2 separate regions of the Homo sapiens genome follow, and region 2 is linked to region 1. Evidence: promoter capture Hi-C in 16 types of primary human blood cells and fetal thymus (Javierre and others, 2016). All regions are on one chromosome and are shown on one strand. Each heading gives the region's core, a stretch centred on a gene start or on the middle of the fragment in contact. The rest is flanking DNA. Distances are from core to core; before and after follow the strand shown. Region 1 holds the start of VTA1 (vesicle trafficking 1). Region 2 has its middle 6.9 kb from the start of CITED2.

Region 1 (4,497 bases), core at 1,762-4,261:
AGTATCTTAAAAAGATACAGCTATAGATATATATATTATCCTGATTACATTGACTGATGCCCTGTCATTTGCCAACAAGATGGTTCTGACCAAACGGACACAGAATATTTTTATTGTCAGATGATCACACATACATGTGTGTATGTAGGGTATGGTGTAAAACATTTTTTCCCATCAAAACACCTGTCAGCTCTAGTTTCTCTCCATTTTCTTCTTCCTATGGTTGCCCTCACCCCCTATTTTGTTCTACAGCTCTGCCCTCCCCTTACTTGCCAAGGTTCTAGCCCAGTCCTAGAGGGTGATGTCAGATCCTTCAGAAACTGGTCTGAGATGAATGGAGAAGAAGAATGTAGGTCTTTCTAGTAAAATATCATAGTAAAACAAGAAAAAGCAACCTCACAGTCATTAATATTTGTTTTATAGCATAATTTCAATGTGTGTTACACTAACACTGTCTCTGTACTGTTCTCCATCAAATCAATTATCATCTCATGAAAGGGTTAGCATATTTAGAAAGAAGAGAGCATGAGGCTCTTGTCTGTAATCTCAGCACTTTGGGAGGCCGAGGCAGGAGTATCACTTGAGACTAAGAGTTCAAGACCTGCCTAGGCAACAAAATAATAATAATTAGCCATAGTGTTATGTGCCTGTGGTCCCAGTTACTCAGGAGGCTGAGGCAAGAAGATCCTTGAGCCCAGGAGTCCAAGACTGCAGCGAGCTCTGATAGTGTGCTGCACTCCAGCTTAGGTGACAGAGTGAGAACCTGTCTAAAAAAAAAAAAAAAAAAAGAAAGAAAAAAAGAAGGAAGGAAGGAGAAAAGAAAGAAAAGAAAAGAGCATGTGTTGGCAGATCAGAGAGTAAAATCCAACTCCAACCATTTCACTTTCTTATTTTTCCCTCAGTCCTGCTCATGAGGGTATGCAAATAAGAGTACACATGAATGTATGCAAATGAGAAAGAGTGGCAAAATTCACTTCTGAAGGGGGAGATCAGGAGAGTAACAGGAGGGTGCAGCCTTCTACCAGGAAGAGGAACATTTGTTTCTCAGACATAAGATGATGGAATAGAGAAAAGATAAAACATAAGATCTAGAAAGACATCATAGTCAAGTAGTAATGGCTAGGTGCACAGGCTCTGAAACCAAAATACCTAGATTTTAATGTGGAATACTCATCCTTCCTGGCTGTGACCTAGTGCAAGTTATCTAGATTCTATGTGTCTTATTTTTCTCATCTGTAAAATAATAATGATATGTTCCTCATAGGGTTGTGGTGCAAATTAAATAAATTAATATAAAGACCCTAGAAACATGCATGATACATAGTTGATGCTCAGCAAATGCTGCTAGCTAGTTATTATTACTTTAAGTTGTGGTAGAGGCAAGGCAAAATAATTCATATCTGGTGGTGGCCTTAATCTCAATAGCAGGAAATGCTGTTGTAGACCAAGGAAATTGGGGCTGAGTGCCTAGCTTGAATAGAGCGAGAGAAGTTTGAAACACCATCTGTGGACTACAGCACTGGTCCTTAACCCTAGACGTAACATTAAAATTACATGAGGACCTTTTAAAGATACTGACATTTAGGATCCCACCTAGAACAATTAAGTGAGAATGCCTGGAGTGGGCTTTAAAGTTGATCTTTAAGGGCAGCTGCGGTTGAGAATCAAGAAGTAATAGGAAACAAATAAATGAAAAGTTGTGAGTATAGAAAGAAAACAGTTATGGTTATCCAACTCTGCTTTTCTTCATTGATTTCTCTACCAATCTAGCAACTTTTGACTGGAAAGTCCAAATAGTGGGAGTAAGAGAAAGAGAAAGAAACCATACATTCTCCAGTGGTAGGAAATATGCCGCTGAGATTGGGGAAGAAGACAGAACTGAGTTTCAGGCTGAGTAAAAAAGCCCGACCCAGAATAAGATGATGGACTTTGCAAATAGGTCTAGGCAACGTATGTGGAGTGGGATAATATGAGGACATGGAGCGGTTTCTTCTGGGGGTGAGAGAGTGATCAGAAAATAGTAGGCAGAGGGGAATTTCCGAGCTGGAGATTTTGGCTCTTGGGGATAGTGTGATTTCAGTGAAAACTAGTTTTAAGATGAATTGTCAAAACTGAGGACTGAGATAAAATAAAGAAGGTTATTGGAGGAAGTAAATAAAGTGTACAGTCCTGAAAGATATAAGTAAGGGATGGAGAGGAGAGGAAGAGAATTGAAGTCATTGAGGGTAGAAGGAAAAGTGATGCCTACTGTACAATGGTTAAGAGTTACCAGCGTTGAAAACGTCCCAAACACCCTATCTTACATTAAGACAAGATAATAAATATGAAAATACTTTACAAATTGTTAATCACTCTCCAGAAAAAAAAAAGGTGATCTACAGATTATTCATTCACTAAAATACGTACTAGCCAGCTGAGAACAAAAGTTCAATCTTCTTTAAGCTTCATATGTTTAGCTTAATTTGGCGCGAAATCTGATTATTTTATCCAGTATGTCAACATAGAAAAATTTAATTTACAATTTAAACACATTATTTCTCTCTCATGCAAGTATTGAAATTAAAGTTTCTAAAATCAAAAAGGCTTCTAAAGGACACTGCTATATGGAATATTAATGTGGCATATTAACTGGAAGTGGTAATTCCTGAATGACGCCAAAGGCAATTCTCGCCTTTATACTTTCTCCCAGTCAACATACATTATTTTCTTGTTTTTCCTTTTCTATCCTTCCTTTTGCCACAAACAACAAACCAAACAAAAAAGCAAAACAAAACAAAAACCCTTCCTCCTACCAGCAGAGAGCGCTAGCGCCATGCGCGGCATAAGCGCCAAAATGCTCGGGTCTTCTGTGGGTTCTAACCGCCGAGAGCCAAGCACCCTGAGGTTGTCCCAGCTGGGGATCCGTAGTTGACTTGACGTCGCTGAGCAACGGAAGAGTGGGCAGCATTTGCTCTGAACGCTCGTGCGCGCTACCGCCCAGACGGAAGCGGAAGTGCCGGTGGAGCGCGAGTAGGAAGTGGTGAGTTCGGAGTAGAGATGGCCGCGCTTGCACCGCTGCCCCCGCTCCCCGCACAGTTCAAGAGCATACAGCATCATCTGAGGACGGCTCAGGAGCATGACAAGCGAGACCCTGTGGTGGCTTATTACTGTGAGTCTTTCCGAGTGGCCGCGCCCTTTCTTTCCCAGTTGCATTTTAGGGCCCACACACCTCCCTGAGGTTCTTGGGGCATGCCCCGCCCCCCTCGCTTTAAACCTGAGCTTTGACCTCGAGCCTACCCAGGGAACTCCCTGGGTTCCCACCCCCTGGCAGTAGGAATCCCAAAACACCATGGTGTCCACTGCTTCTCCTATCTTGTGCTTAAATGCTCCAGTACTGACTACACAGGCTCTTGAACTGTGGAATATAATCTTCCAAGGTTTTCTCTGTGTGTGTACACACAAGAGCTTCTTGTCTCAAATAGGAATCCTGAAAATAAATTGAGTTAGGTTTAAAACGAAGGTGAGTGTCCGAAAGAAGGAGTGATGTGGATAAAAGGACGATAGACTAGTTGAAAACATAGTAATAAGTGAATATTATTTATGACAGCATGCAAGCCCAATCAGAAACTCATTTGGTTAAATGGGGAGTATCTGCTACTAAATAAGCAGTTGAATTTGACCTTTCCCCACCCAGCTGCTCTCTCCTACCATGCAGAATTTTTAGTTTTGACTTCTTTGAATAATACCCGCTGTTGAGACCTTTGAAAGCAGTATTTTCACTTTGAGTGTTATACGTTGAATTTACAGTTTGATTAAAAAAAATATAGGTTAACTCTGCTCAAACTTGTAGTGAGTAAAGGGAGTGCCAGTAATTCTGTGTTAACTTTATTTTGTATTCTGTACTCTTAACTTTACTGCAAATAAAACAAGTAACTGGACAATTATAATTCTGAAAAGGATATTTAGAGTTGAGAAGTTGGATATAATGCGTCCATTGTTGTGTATATTGTAAGGTTAGCTAAAATCTGGTCACTGTTATCTCTGCCATACTCCAAATGTACCCTGTTTCTCAAATGTGCAAGGCCTTTTCAGACCTACCATCTTCCACTCTCTTGGAATGTGCACCTTTTTCTTGCACTTGGCAAACTCATGATTCAAGATCTAACCCAAATGTCACCACTTCTGTGGGCAGCAAATTGATTATTCTCTGTGCATTACTTCATTTTGTTCAAATTTTACAGCATCATTTTTATTATACTTGTTCTTCAGTTTCCTCAAGCAGGGTCCATATTCATTCAGTATGTGTTCATTGAGCTACCTTTGTATCAAGCATTAGTAGGCGCTGTGACTACATTTGCTGCATTTTTGGAGCTTACATACAATGGAGGTAGAGAGTTTCAACAATATAGAGTCTATCATACATAGAGTATTAAAAGCTTATGAAGACAAATAGAGCAAGGAAAAGGAATAAGAGTATCAGGAGTAGTGGTGGCAGGGAGTGCAGATGGGATTTCAGTT
Region 2 (4,623 bases), core at 299-2,798, 2.8 Mb before region 1:
ACTTTGGGAGGCTGAGGTGGGAGAATTGCTTAAGCCCAGAAGTTTGAGACCAGCCTAGGCAATATGGCAAAACCCCAGACTCTACAAAAAATATGAAAAGTAGCTGAGCATGGTGGTGCATGACTGTAGTTCCAGCATCTCAGGAAGCCGCGAAGCTGAGGTGGGAGCATTACTTGAGCCCAGGAGGTCAAGGCTGCAGGTCGAGGTCGAGGTCGTGCCACTGCACTCCAGCCTGGGTGACAGAGCAAGACCTTGTCTCAAAAAAAATAAAACCCAAAAAACAAAACAACAAAATGAAACAAAACCCCAAAGCTCACTTAATCCTCAATGTAAGGAGTAGGGATTACTTTCATCACTTTAGTAAGGAGGACTTTGAGTCTCAGAGAATCTTTTAAAAATAAAAATAAAAACAATGAAAAACATGGCCACCTTCTCAGAAGGAGAGGAATAGGGAAAAGAGGAGAGAGGTAGCCAGAGAGTCTGTTAACACATGATTTAATAGTGACAGAGGCCCTATATGCAACCTGGTGTTATCTGCAAACTGAATAATGTCTTACATGTAGTATATATGTCAAACTGAGATGTGAATATCACTTTTAAACATGTAAACTTGGTTCTAACTCATAAAATACAAATTCACTTGAAATTATTACCAAACTCATAATAGTTTTTCTGTCTTTAGGTATTTTTTCATTCAAGAGAAATATAGCCATTATCACGTAGAGGTCAATGAAATGTTTGTATTAAAGGGTCTTTAAATTGATGAAGTTGGTACTATCCCGCTTGAGAATTTGATTAAAATAAATATTTTAGGATGTCATTCCTGGAGTTCTTGATTCATCAGGCTGGGAGTGGGGCCTGAGGAGCTGTATATTTTTTAAAAGCTCCCGGTTGGTTCTGATATTTAGCTAGGTTTGCAAACAGCCAACCTTGTTTATAGGTTGATGACAACTGGGGTCATTCTCACAGGGTTCATGGGTGTACTGTGAACCTGGTTCACACTCATAATGTCCAGTTTCCCTGGACTGCCACCCGTTTCCTCTCCGCCTCCCGCCCATGACTGGAATTTTGCCTGTCTTTGAAGGCCCAGCTCAGATGACATTTCCTCTTTTTTAGCCTCCCCTGATCCCCTAGATGGCAAGAATTCTGGCTCGTTGGTGCTTCCAGGGCAATTTACTCAGATCTTCTTTTTTGACCTATTCTGACTTGAGTTATGGGTATTTGTATTCTTCTGTAACCTTCTCTGTGATGGCAGAGGTTCCCAGGTGAGCTCCAAGGGGCTGCAAAATGTCGTGCACAGAATAAGGTCAACCTTCGACAGATGCCTCTCGACTTACCATGGGGTCATGCTCTGATAAACCCCGTTCTATAAGTTGAAAACATCATCTGTGAAACCATCATAAGCCAGGAGCATGTGTATAAGTTTGCTAGTGCTGCTAGGGCTGCCATAACAAAATATCAGCCTGGGAGGCCTAAATAACAGAAATGTATTTCCTCATAGTTGTGGAGGCTGAAAGTCCATGATCAAAGTGTCAGGACCCCTCTCCTTGGCTTGCAGATGGCTGCTTCTGGTGTGTCTTCACATGGTCTTTCCTCTGTGCACAGGAAACCCTGGTGTCTCTTTCGTGTGTCCAAATTTCCTCTTCTTATGAGGACATCAGTCAGATTGGATTAGGACCCTCCCTAATGTCCTCATTTTAACTGAATCACCTCTTTAAAGACCTTATCTCTAGTTATGGTTACATTCTTAGATACCGGGAGTTAGCTGTCAGCAGAGGAATTTGGGTGGGGGTACAATTCAGCCTATATAACACACGTCACATATAGATTCTTTTTTAGATAATTGGCATTTTCTTAGTCTGCAGCTTTAACAATAAGCTAGAGAACATTCACATTGGTTTTGAAGTTGGATGAGGTATGTTGGAAAGCAGAAGAAAAATTCAGTGACCTTAAATAATTAGAAAAACACTCTATCAAAAACAAGATTATGTTCAATAAGAAAAACTGCAGAGGCTTCACGAGGACAATAACAAATTACATGGGTATTGGATGGGAAATTATTGAGTAGATATAACAAGTTCAGCCAAAAACCAAACCAAAACAAAACTGCGGGTCCTCCTAAGCTATTGGTTGAATCAGAGGCAGCCACGGAATGCTGTTATTGAAAAGGACACAACTCGGAGTATATCAGGAGTGAGAATCACATGACAGAGCTGGAAGTAATCCTTTTGCTACACTGGGCTCTTCTGAGAGATCATGGTTAGTTTGCAACTTTACCTTTTAATAAAGAGTTACCAAAACCAAAGAAAGTTCATTGAAAAAAAAAAAAGGAAATATATTTTTAAAGGGACGGGAAATGGGACTTATAATGGCTATTTAATCTGGGGAAGAAAAAGCTGACAGGTGACTTAATACATATGTTCTGGTCTACATAGAGGAAAACTAATATGGTGGATCCTTTCCAGATGTTTTCCTTTTCCACTGAGACAAAGAAAAAAGGAAGGCGTTTTTAAAAAGAGAGCTTTAGATCAGTGGTTTCCAAATTTGTGTTCTGTAGATGTTGTGTATTCTCAGCTTCACTTTTAAGTGCTTTATATATTAAGGGTTTCTGTTTGTTTTAAAAACATATTGTTCTGATGTTAAACAGTTATGAAAACTAATGCTTTGGATAATACATAAAAATCATAGAATTCTAGTGTGGGTAGGACTTTTAAAAATAATCTTATCCAAACTCCTTCCTTTTCTAGATGAGAAATCTGAGGTCCTGAGAGGTTAAGTGACTTGCTCATAAAGGACTTCCTAACCATCAGGATTTAAAAACACTGGTATGGATTATCGGAGCAGACCAAGTCTTTATGAAGACTTCACTGAAGTGAAATAGAGATGTGTTGAGTGGTTTTTTAGATCAGCGTTTCCCAGCTGATGTTCTATATTATAGGTGGATAGGATTGCAGAAGACAGTAATAGAATCTATATCAATTTCTACTTTTAAAACAGTGGGAATTAAAATCATTTAAAAGTAGTTTTCCAGTTCAAAATGGAAGTTTGGGGCTGGGTGCAGTGGCTCACGTCTTTAATCCCAGCACTTTGGGAGGCTGAGGCAAGAGGATGGCTTGAGCCCAGGAGTTTGAGACCATCCTGGGCAACATGGAGAGACTTTGTTTCTACAAAAAAAAATTTGAGGCTGGGCACGGTGGCTCACACCTGTAATCTCAGAACTTTGGGAGGCTGAGGCGGGTGGATCACAAGGTCAGGAGATCGAGACCATCCTGGTTAACATGGTGAAACCTGGTCTCTACTAAAAATACACAAAATTAGCCAGGCGTGGTGGCGCACACCTGTGGTCCCAGCTACTTGGGAGGCTGAGGCAGGAGAATCACTTGAATCCAGGAGGCGGAGGTTGCAGTGAGCCAAGATCACGTCACTGCACTCCAGCCTGGTGACAGAGCAAGATTCCATCTCAAAAAAAAAAAAAAAAAGAAATTTTAAACTTAGCCAGACATGGTGGCACACACTTGTAATCCCAGCTACTTGAGAGGCTGAGGCGTGAGGATCACTTGAGCCCAGGAGCTTGAGGCTGCCATGAGCTGTGATTGTGCCACTGCACTCCAGCCTGGATGACAGAACGAAACCCTGTCTCAAAACAATAACAAAACAAAAAAACCCCAGCAAGATGGAAGTTTGAGAGTCTCTGAGTTGTGCTGAGTGAGCCCACAGAGCTGGTTGTAGACATCTGATGACAAGCATTAAGTAATGTAGTTACTCTCTCAGCTAAATACTCATGTCAGAGTGGTTGTTGCACTATTTAACAACTTTAAGTTGCTTTTAATTCTTTTACACATACGGATTTTTTTTTTTTTAAAGATAGAAGACTAATGGTCCTGAATAAAATAAACCTGTGAGAAATATAATTGTGATAATTTTTTTTTTGAGATAGGGTCTCACTGTGACGTCCAGGCTGGAGTGCAGTGATGTGGCCATAGCTCATGTAACCTTAAACTCCTGGACTCAAGTGGTCCTCTCACCTTGGCCTCCCAAAGCACTGAGATTACAGGCATGACCATGGTGCCCAGCCGAATTGTGATAATTATTTCACAACTAACTTATGATGATGCTCATCTCACCCAGAAGTTGCATTCATATCATGAAAACTTTTATATAGTACAAATTACATAACTCTAGGACTAAAAAATGAATCCAAAAGAGAGAAAACATAGTGATGACTACACTCAAATTGTCTGTCAATTTATTAGAAATAAAGATTCAGCTGCTGTATGTAATAATTACGGAAGTATGTTTGCAAATAATAGCCTGAAACTATTCCTCTGATCTCATTACTTACAAACAAAGCACAAACATTATTTTTTAAAATCCCAGTTGATTTTTATGTACAAAAGTCAAAAACTAAAAACATCAGGAAAGGAAAATATTTCGTGCCAATTTGTAATGTCATAATATGTAGTTGTATTTCAATATGTTTAAATATGTATTTAGTCTCAGATCCACAGAGAATATATTGTCAATTTTGAATTTGTTAACAAGCTGTGCTTTACTTCTTATAATTAATTGAAAAGAGATCTTATAATTGTATTTTATAACAAAAAATAATTTGTTTTATAGTCT

What was found. Contacts are between HindIII fragments. The CHiCAGO score rates a contact against its expected background, and 5 or more counts as called.
Region 2: a fragment that was not itself captured here is called in contact with the fragment with the promoter of VTA1 in region 1 in 1 of 17 cell types (total CD8 T cells); the score reaches 7.2 in total CD8 T cells.

What each region holds. Positions count from the first base shown.
Region 1 is chr6:142,144,252-142,148,748 of GRCh38, forward strand. VTA1 (vesicle trafficking 1) reads left to right here and starts at 3,012. Exons shown (of 8, transcript NM_016485.5): 1 at 3,012-3,148. The coding sequence starts at 3,037. NMBR (neuromedin B receptor) reads right to left here and starts at 2,871. Exons shown (of 4, transcript NM_002511.4): 1 at 2,793-2,871. RefSeq lists enhancers at 2,741-3,035, 2,799-2,938, 3,193-3,713. The HindIII fragment of the contact is 1,973 bases long and covers 2,441-4,413 here.
Region 2 is chr6:139,379,234-139,383,856 of GRCh38, forward strand. No RefSeq gene overlaps it. Among named protein-coding and RNA genes, the nearest start is that of CITED2, 6.9 kb to the left of the region's middle. The HindIII fragment of the contact is 6,226 bases long and covers 1-4,623 here.